Regions from separate parts of the Homo sapiens genome. Here region 2 is linked to region 1. The links are contacts of gene promoters, found by promoter capture Hi-C in blood cells and fetal thymus (Javierre and others, 2016). All regions are on one chromosome and are shown on one strand. Each heading gives the region's core, a stretch centred on a gene start or on the middle of the fragment in contact. The rest is flanking DNA. Distances are from core to core; before and after follow the strand shown.

Evidence for each region. The method cuts DNA at HindIII sites, captures the fragments that hold promoters and counts their contacts. A CHiCAGO score of 5 or more calls a contact.
Region 2: a contact is called between the fragment with the promoter of TMEM43 here and the fragment with the promoter of SETD5 in region 1, in 1 of 17 cell types (monocytes). The highest score is 5.8, in monocytes.

What each region holds. Positions count from the first base shown.
Region 1 is chr3:9,396,297-9,401,700 of GRCh38, forward strand. It overlaps SETD5 (SET domain containing 5), which reads left to right and starts at 1,319. Exons shown (of 23, transcript NM_001080517.3): 1 at 1,319-1,681. THUMPD3-AS1 (THUMPD3 antisense RNA 1) reads right to left here and starts at 327. Exons shown (of 4, transcript NR_132781.1): 1 at 264-327. RefSeq lists a silencer at 217-1,526 and an enhancer at 2,137-2,186. The HindIII fragment of the contact is 6,018 bases long and covers 1-3,367 here.
Region 2 is chr3:14,122,607-14,126,301 of GRCh38, forward strand. TMEM43 (transmembrane protein 43) reads left to right here and starts at 2,446. Exons shown (of 12, transcript NM_024334.3): 1 at 2,446-2,599. The coding sequence starts at 2,588. CHCHD4 (coiled-coil-helix-coiled-coil-helix domain containing 4) reads right to left here and starts at 2,264. Exons shown (of 3, transcript NM_001098502.2): 1 at 2,049-2,264. The coding sequence starts at 2,070. RefSeq lists enhancers at 1-417, 1,889-2,623, 2,491-2,690, 2,624-3,358, 2,791-3,080 and 1 more and silencers at 1,681-1,730, 1,741-2,300. The HindIII fragment of the contact is 788 bases long and covers 2,331-3,118 here.

The DNA.
Region 1 (5,404 bases), core at 69-2,568:
ATGACGAGATCACGCGAGGAGGAAAGGAGGGAGGGCTTCTTCCAGGCCCAGGGCGGTCCTTACAAGACGGGAGGCAGCAGAGAACTCCCATAAAGGTATTGCGGCACTCCCCTCCCCCTGCCCAGAAGGGTGCGGCCTTCTCTCCACCTCCTCCACCGCAGCTCCCTCAGGATTGCAGCTCGCGCCGGTTTTTGGAGAACAAGCGCCTCCCACCCACAAACCAGCCGGACCGACCCCCGCTCCTCCCCCACCCCCACGAGTGCCTGTAGCAGGTCGGGCTTGTCTCGCCCTTCAGGCGGTGGGAACCCGGGGCGGAGCCGCGGCCGCCGCCATCCAGAAGTCTCGGCCGGCAGCCCGCCCCCGCCTCCAGCGCGCGCTTCCTGCCACGTTGCGCAGGGGCGCGGGGCCAGACACTGCGGCGCTCGGCCTCGGGGAGGACCGTACCAACGCCCGCCTCCCCGCCACCCCCGCGCCCCGCGCAGTGGTTTCGCTCATGTGAGACTCGAGCCAGTAGCAAGGGCCCGGTCCCACAGCTTCGACAGCCAATCAGGTGTCGAAGACAAGCAGGCGGCGGGTAAACCGACTCCCCCGAAGGAAGGGGAGGGTGGGAGGACGCCCGCGCCAGAGCCGATTTCACTGACCCTCCCCTCCCGCCGCAGGAGGCCGGCCGCGCCCGCACACCCAGCATCTCTACACCCCACCTACCTACCCGCCCCACCCAGGGGGCAACGCGAGAGTCGCTAAGCGGCTGCGTACTCCCGACGGCGTAACTGACAGGAGCTTTACTCCAACCAGAATACGCCATTTGTGTTTTCACACACGGCGGGAGGAGAAACGGCCAATCGGCGACAAGAGGCTAGCCGGAAGCGCTCCTCCCTCTGCGAGAGCAATGGCTCCGTCCGGTTTCGAGCATTTTCCGCTCCCTTCTCCCTCCCCCTCCGGTTGCCGCAGGGCGGGCCTCCCTCCCGCCTGCATCCAGCCACCCCTTTCCCTCCCAACGTAACAAACATTATGTTCCCGACTTCCCACGGGAAAGGCAACCCCCGCAAGCCACCAGACGGCCCCCCTAGCCACCCATCCCCCCAGTGTACCGCACCTCCCCTCCCACCAGAGTTCCGCTCCCCTACCTAGCCGAGGCTCTCTGAGGAGCCGGAGCGCCGAAGCACAGCCTCTTCTCTAGGCGGCCCCGGCGGCTTCCGCTGATTGGCGGCGAGTGGGCCAATGGGTGCGGGGCGGTGGGCGGAGAGGCCAATGGCGCGGCGGGAGGGGGCGTGTCCCGGGTGCCCCTGGCGCCGGCGCTGGGAATCCCCGTGCGGTCAGTGGCGTTTCCGCTCGGGCAGCGGGCTGAGTGAGCTGCCGCCGCCGCCGCCGCCGCCGCCGCCGCCGCCGCTGCCGGGGGAGGGGCGGCCGCCGCCCGCCTGCGCTCAGAGACTCACGCAGCCCCAGTCCCGCCAGTCCGCCAACACAGTAGTGCCGGCCCCCCTCTTTCCCTGGCCCTGCCCCCCCTCCCCGCCTTTGGCTCGCTCCGCCTTTCTGCCCCCCACCCCCACCTCACGGGTACGGGCCATTCCCGGCCAGGAAACGCCGTGGCGCCGCGTTGGGCCTAACTCGAGTCCTGCCGCCTCCCGGGAGTGCCGTGCGCCGCAGCCCGGGCCCAGGCCCCGGCAGCGCCTGGGACAAGGTAAGGGTCCGACAGAAAAGAGACCGAACCTCACGATCGGGCCCCAGGGGAGGGAAGGGTCACCTCCTCCGTCTCCCCGCGCTCGCTCTCCTTGGGTCGTGGGCCTGGCCCTCCCCAAGCTCTTAGGAGGATGCTGCCACTTCTCACCCCCCTCGCCGCCTTGCACACACCGTTGCAACACCCCATTTTCCCAGGGAGAGAGATCCCCCTCTAATCTAGGCGACCCAACTCCCCCTTTCATGTTTTTCCTGGGTCAGGACGCTTCCCCTCCCCCAACGCCTCTTCACCCCCTTTCCTGGGAACTGCCTACTCCACGTTTACCTTTCCCTTGAGGAGAGGCCTCTTGCTGCCCTCCGCTCGAAATACACAGGCATACTTTTTTTCTCTCCCCGATCCCCCACTCCCTACCCCCGTTCTCGCGGCCTTGTGACAGACAACTCTGATCGCTCTGGGGGCCGCGATCTCCCCTCCGTAATCTTCCTGGACGCCTTCCCTCTCGTTTTCTGGCTTCCCACCTCAGATGGCTGCTTCCCAAAGGCATTACCTTCGCCACCCCCACCACACGTTCTCTGGCTCCCCGTGGCGTGTGCCACAGCGTGTCTGAGATAGCCTCGTTGAATGTGTAGGGTTCGAGCCTGGAGTTGAGCCAGATTGTGTCGTTTTACTTGCCTTGGGCGTGGAGAACGATCTTGTGAGAATATCTTCAAAGGCAGAAAAATATTCCCTTTATGAATTCTCTTTCCCTCTGCGTGTAAGTCGGGAATGTGAAGAGGAGTGTAGGAAAGAGCCCTGGTTCAAGTAGGTAAATCGCATGAGAGGGAAAGTTAAACTGTTGGGAAAGCCCCTTCTATGCTAATTGATTCTATAGAGTCCTTGCTTGTCTCACTTCTTGGGCGTCAGTGGTCTTTCTCTTGGATATGGATGCTGCAGTCAGCTCTGCTGGTCTGGGTCAGGGGTGCGTGTATGACCTGCATTTTCTGCTTTCTCATGTTACTTGTGCAATGTATTCACCGGTAACTCATTTCTTTCCCAGACCTCTGGGTTCCACTGGGCTTTGTCTATATTTAAGTTCATTTCTCCAGTTTCCTTCCTGCACATAGGTACTGAACGAATCCCCAAGTTCTGTGCTAATTACCTTCATCAGTTGACTAAACAAGTTTTTAGATGACATATTTGTGACCAAGGTCATATTTACATTTCTTTGTTGGACAGATGTTACATAGCTATACTTGTGATTGGGGAGGATCCAGCTGAGTGGAGTGTGCTGAGCTTTTTAGGAGAGTGTGTACTCCCTATTTGAAATTATTTTTTGGTTGTTAATTTTATATTATTAATGTTTTTAGGTCACAGAAAGTTCTAAGTGGTAATTTTAGATGTGTGGGATCTGAGCTAGGACTAAAGCAGAGAATACCCACGTAATCAGAGGTTTCTGGGCTCCATAGAGGACGTAGGGCTTTTTTTTTTCTATTGGATTTCTTCCAGTTTTCTCAGGATCATTAGTTCTCTTCTGTAGCCAAAAATTCTGGCCTGTTATGGGATTAGAGTCTTTAAGGTTTACTCAGACTGTCATTATGTGTAGAAAAATGAATTATGCCCTTTGGTAGGACATGACACAAGGCTCTGTTTCTAGCTGCAAATTTAAATTAGATTGTAGAGTGCTTGGGAAATTGGCTTTCAAAAGACCAAAGCTTAATCTTCACTCCTAAACTGCTGGCTTAATTAAAATGGATATTTAGAATTTGGTAAATGTTGATTTTTCTAATAAAAGGCCTTGGTTTAAAAGGGTGACCTTAGGATTGTTTCTTTCTTAAAAGCATAATTCCAGCCCTTCTGGCATGGAGCACTGGTCCAAAAAAAAAAAAAAAAAGTGTGTGTAAGGAGTGGGGGTGGGGTAAAGAGAAGGTTGTTCCTTTGGGTTGGATCACAGGGGTGAGTATACAAGGCAGCAGCAGCTGCTGGCTCTGGAGCTCTGGTTGCTACGTGAGAAGCTTGAGTAGTGCTGGCTGCTGTCTCCAGGGAAGGACAGCAGTGCAGCGTCCATTAATGCTGCTGGCTGCAGGGAGCAGCACTTAGGCGATGGCTGCTTCAGGACTAAGAAGAAACCTTGCTTTTCTGGGAATTTTCACTGCTGAGCTGGTTTGCTTTTTATTGGTGGGGAGATGGGAATTAGTAATTCATAATCTCCTACCCATTTATGGATATTGGCATCTGGAAACTGGATCATGGTTAAAGCCTTTCTTTTTTTGTTTGTTTGATTTGATTTTTGTTTTTTGGCAGATTTTTGTTTTTTATCTAGACATTTGTGCTTGGATAGGACTAAAAGTTCCATTAGAGTTTTAATTTTTCAATCAGTTTAAAAACCCAAGTAATAATTTTAAGAATCTTTCTGATAACCACAATAGGAAGAAAATAACAGGAATTTTTTCCTGCAGCTCACATATCATGCCTTCCTCCATCTCTTTAATCATAGAATCAATTCTTATTATTTTGTTATGTGTCTCCATCCTTTCGATTAGACCACATTTACCTTATAGACGATTTGCTAAACATTTTACTAAGCTTGAACTCTTAAACTCTAAAAAGGTGCCATTTTGGAGTGGTTTCTAAATAAATATTTTTAATTTGTATATTAGTAATAAACTTCTCCAGATTAGATATTTTCTTTGGAGTTTGACTTATAAGATTGATTCATTATATACATGTTGGATATAGCCTTCTGACATCACAAATATATGTCTTTGGCCATAATCCATCTGAAATGTAGGACAGACCAGAAGAAATATGCAGAAATCGAATAAGTCTAGTTCAGGATACTGAGAAGATGGCCTCTGAGCCCCTTAGGTGATCTCCCCTCCCCCACAACTCCTGAACATTAGGATGATCTCTGATTAAGCAAAACAGTCTGAGCGTGGAAAAACTTGAAGGAGAACCACCACCACCAATTATATGCAATACTGGACATATTCCTGTGTGCTGTTTTTCTTCCCCAAGACTCGTGTATCCTATACTTTTTTCTCTCAGAATTTTGATTTGTTCATTTTCGTGTAAATGTACTTAAATCTCACAAACATCTATAATTTGTAGTATCACTCTGGCATTTGTGGCAGAGAACCAAAAAGAATGGAAATGAGTTTTGTCATTCACAAATGTGGCTCACATTGTTTTCCCAGTAATAAAAGCAGACCAATGAAACAGAACCTTTAATGGATACTATTTTAGGAGGTTCCAATTCTTATTACTATCACATAGATAAGATGCAATAGCAGATAAATATGATTTCATGTATACTGGCTGTTTGACATACTTAGGGTTTAAGATAAAAATGTTTGTAGTTTTTTACTCTGTGGCTTAAGTTGCTATATAAAATAATTGCTTTTACACTCGAATTTCCTGTTGTTTGGAACCTTTTGTGCTCTTGATATTATCATTTTTTAGAGGATCATACAGGCCCTTTTCATAGAAGGATTTACTTAAGTTATACCCTTGAAAACTTTTTTATATCTTTTGATACTGTTTTGTGTCCAGGAACTGACTTTCTGAAATTATTCTGGCTTTTCTGGGGAGAATGACTATTTCATTTTTACCTTTGAATGGGGAAATAATAAAGTGCAAAGTACAGATTTGCAGATAATTACTTTTGCTTTATCCTCTCCATGTTGAAATAACTTATGAAAAATTAGGCCATAGTTAACAGCAGTCAATGACTATTGGATACATTTTATC
Region 2 (3,695 bases), core at 1,196-3,695, 4.7 Mb after region 1:
ACTCAGAACAGAGGGCAGGTAAATGCATGATTCAATAAAGATGTGGGCACCCATTGTACACCAAGCCCTGTGCTAGATGCTGGGGATTCCACAGCCCATCTGATGCTCTCAGCTTAGTGCGAGAAGACAGGCAGGAAGTAAGATGGCAAAAAATAAAAAAGGTCATTTCAGACAGTTCAGGATGTGAAAGACACAAAGGGTCAGGAGGTGATATTGGAGCTAAATGTTAAAGGATGAGGAGTCAGCCACGGAAGAGCTGAAGGCAGGATATACCAAACCAAGGGAATAGCCAAGAGGCTAGAGGCTGGGCAGCAAAAGGGTGGGAAGAGACCAGGCTGGAAAGGCAGACAGGGCCAGATCACATAAGCTCTGATACAGTAAGCAGTTTGGGATCATTTTTTAAAAATCCTATGGGAAGCATAAAGGATCAGTGGGGGGCGGAGGGGGGGAAGTTAGGGACTTCTTACGGGGACAGTGGTATGCACAAGATAAATACTAAGGAAGGCCTATAAGTGAGTGCTTTCAATTCTCACTCCTCTCCGAACTAAGAGAGATCTTTGAAGCAGGAAAAGATAGGGCTCCATGTTTTGGAGGCAGATGGACCTAGCCTCCCCTTTCCAGAGAAAACTGCCTCCTGTAAATCCTCAAAGAGGAGGGTCTTGTTTATCAGCACAGCCTCATTATACCCAAAGGCTCAAAAATTATTTGCTAAATGAAGTAAATTAGAGAAAGACTCGAAATTAAAAACAAGAGTGGTGAGGGCAGAGGACTTTTGCTTATGGCACACATTAAGTAGTAATCAGCGGAAATATAATAGTACTCATTAAAGAGTGAGTCTTATGGCTTTACGACCCAGAGGAGGAGAGGTTCTAGAAGCAGACAGCGCCACCAGGGAAAAGGCTCAGAATTTTAGGCTGAGCTAGTCTCCTAACTGGATGTGTAACTACAGGTAGGCCACCTCCTTCTCTGGGCTTCAGATTGCTTGAATTAACTGACGGAGCTGGAGTATTCACCAAAGAATTTCTGGGGGACTTCCAACTCTCTCTGTAGTTTTATAACCATCCATCCCCCTTCTCTGGCGCAGAGAAGGTGCTTCATGAGTATTTGCCGTATCAATGAAGCCCAACATCTCATTTTACAACACTGGATACCAGGGCCTGGAGGGGTTAGGTGGGAGCTCAGGGCCAAGGAGCCAGTTTGTGGCAGTGTGTGGGGAGGCCCTCCGACCTGTGGCTCGGGTACTTCTGAGCTCTTGGGTAGAGTAACATCAAGGAAGCAGTAGGTGGTCGGAGCTCAACTTTGGGGTGGGAGGTAGGCAGGGTTCTCCCTGCAATCCACTGGGCACTAGATTGGATAAGGCTCTTCTGGGGTCACAATGCCCAGGCTCAAACCCCAGCTCCACGATTTGCTGGCTGAGTGGCTTTAGCCATGTCTCCTGTGTCTAACTTTACTCTTCAGTAAAATGTGACCAACAACAGAGCCTGACTTACAAAGGTCGCAGCGAGATCTGTGAGACAAGCCAGGCAAGTTTCCTTGAACAGTGCCTGACAGGTAGCAGGGGGCTCAAAAACATTCCCGTTAGTGGAACTCCTAGCACTCCAGCACAGCACACGCTACCCCGAGTGGCAACTTTTCGGGACGCGCCTTTTAAAGGCGCGTGCAAAATGTAAACACGTGGGGTATGGCAGGAGCGGTAGTGATAATTAACCACCATACATTCCCAGTTTCGAGCCACACGCAACGTGCTCGGCACTTCCCGTGCCCCAACCGGACCTAGTTTACGACTTCCTACGCACAGGCCCCTCTGAGGTCAGGGTTCGGGCTTCACTGTGACCTTGGACCAGCCCCGTTCCCCCCAGAGCTTCGGTTTTCTCATCCGCAAAACAGGAGTAGCGACCCCCCAGCCGGCCCGCCTCCGAGTGTCCCAGGGTGGGCACCTGGGCCGCGCCTCAGGTGGCCCGCGCCCGGCGTGGTCGCGGGGCGCCGGGGCCCGCGTGTCTCCCGCAGGCCCTCGTAGGCCGGTCTCCGTGGCAGCCCGCCCTCCCTACCTTCCTGCCGGCAATAGGACATGGCTGCAGCCCGTCCCTGAGACCTTGCAGAAGCGGCGGTGGCGGCAGCTGCACCTTTACGCCGTGACCTCCCTCTCCTCTGGCAGGGCGGGCTCCTCCGAAGCCCGCGCGGACCCGCCCCCTCCCAGGCCTGCCCGCCGCGCGCCTGCCTCGGCGCCCTCGCAACCGCGGCCAGGCCAACCTCAGCCGGAAACTACATTTCCCAGCAGGTCGCGCGCTCCTCGACAGCTCTCCAGGCAGTAGAAACTACATTTCCCCGAAAGCTTTGCAGTGCGCAGGCGCATCAATGAGGTACTGCAATGTCCCGGACCGTATAGTTTCCAGGACGTCTCGCCGCGCGCATGCGCAGAAACACTGGGCACAGGGGGAGGTAACTGCAGTAAGTCCCGCTTGGCCCTGGAGTCCACGCGGATTTTCGAAGCTGGGGCTGGCAAGAGGCCGCTGGACACCACGCTCCAGTCGTCAGCCCACTTCCTAGCTGAACAGCGCGAGGCGGCGGCAGCGAGCCGGGTCCCACCATGGCCGCGAATGTGAGTATCCCCGGGCCAGCCGGGCCACACCCAGGCTTCCCCGTCGCCCTGGGGCTTTTCCCCGGGGTCCTCTAGGTCCATTTCGCCGCCTGGAGCTCCTCCGTGCGGCTAGGCCCGCATCTCCCTCTGCTCGCCGTGTCTGTGCCTTCGCCAGCTCATCCCTCTGCTCATCTCGCGGCCTGTCCAGGCTTCTTTTGTCCGTGTTCCTTGGCTCGCCTCGTCCTCGGCGTTCGTGCGGAGGCGGACTCGGAGGTGTTGCTCCCGTACTGGGATCTGCTTGTACGCCTCTCCGCGGCCCCTCCTTGCATTCCCAGTTCCCTCCTGTACCTTGGGGCCCTGAAACTTGCGCATTATGAGAGCTGGACGCGACCTCAGAGAGGGCGCCAGTCCCTTGGGAGGGAGGAAGGCGATCCAGCCCAAGTGGAGCTGTCCAGCAATGGACAGACAGGGCTGTCCAGGCGGGCAGAGAGCTCTCCGCCCTAGGGAGTCTCTGTAAACCGAGTCTGTGATGCTCCAAAAAGCTTAGGCTGGGCTGGGAGCGAAGGAGTTGGGGGAGAGGGAGCATTTCTCTACTGTCGGGGCCCCTCCTCCCCCTAGCAAGGATTTGGTTGGAGGAGGCCTGGCTGAGGGCTGTTCCCTCAAGGCCTCTTCTCCCTGCAACTAGCCTTTCTCGGGAAACTATTTAAGCCCAACATTCATTCAACAAGCAGCGCCTCCTACCAGGGCGCTGGGTGTGGGAGAAGCTGGTGACTCACCTCTCCCCTCCTCTGTGAAAGTGCTTCTAGGGCCCGCTTAGGAGCCCAGCCAGCCCCAGACACACCCTCCCTCCTGCTTTGGTAGAGTGTCCTAGCAGCTCTCCCCTTGCCTGTCACACCCTATTTCCAGACACCGCCTCTGTCCCCAAGCGTCCTCTCTGCCTCCCACACCCCTTGAGAGGCCAGGGTGTGCATCACCCACAGCCCTAGTACACTTTGTCTCGGGTTAGTATCATCCACACTCCCAGGACATTTCGGGCCCACAGGAGGGTTAGAAGCCTTGAATGTTGTACCTAGAAAAGCCTCAGAGGTATTCGGAGAGACTCAGGCTCGGCCAGGCG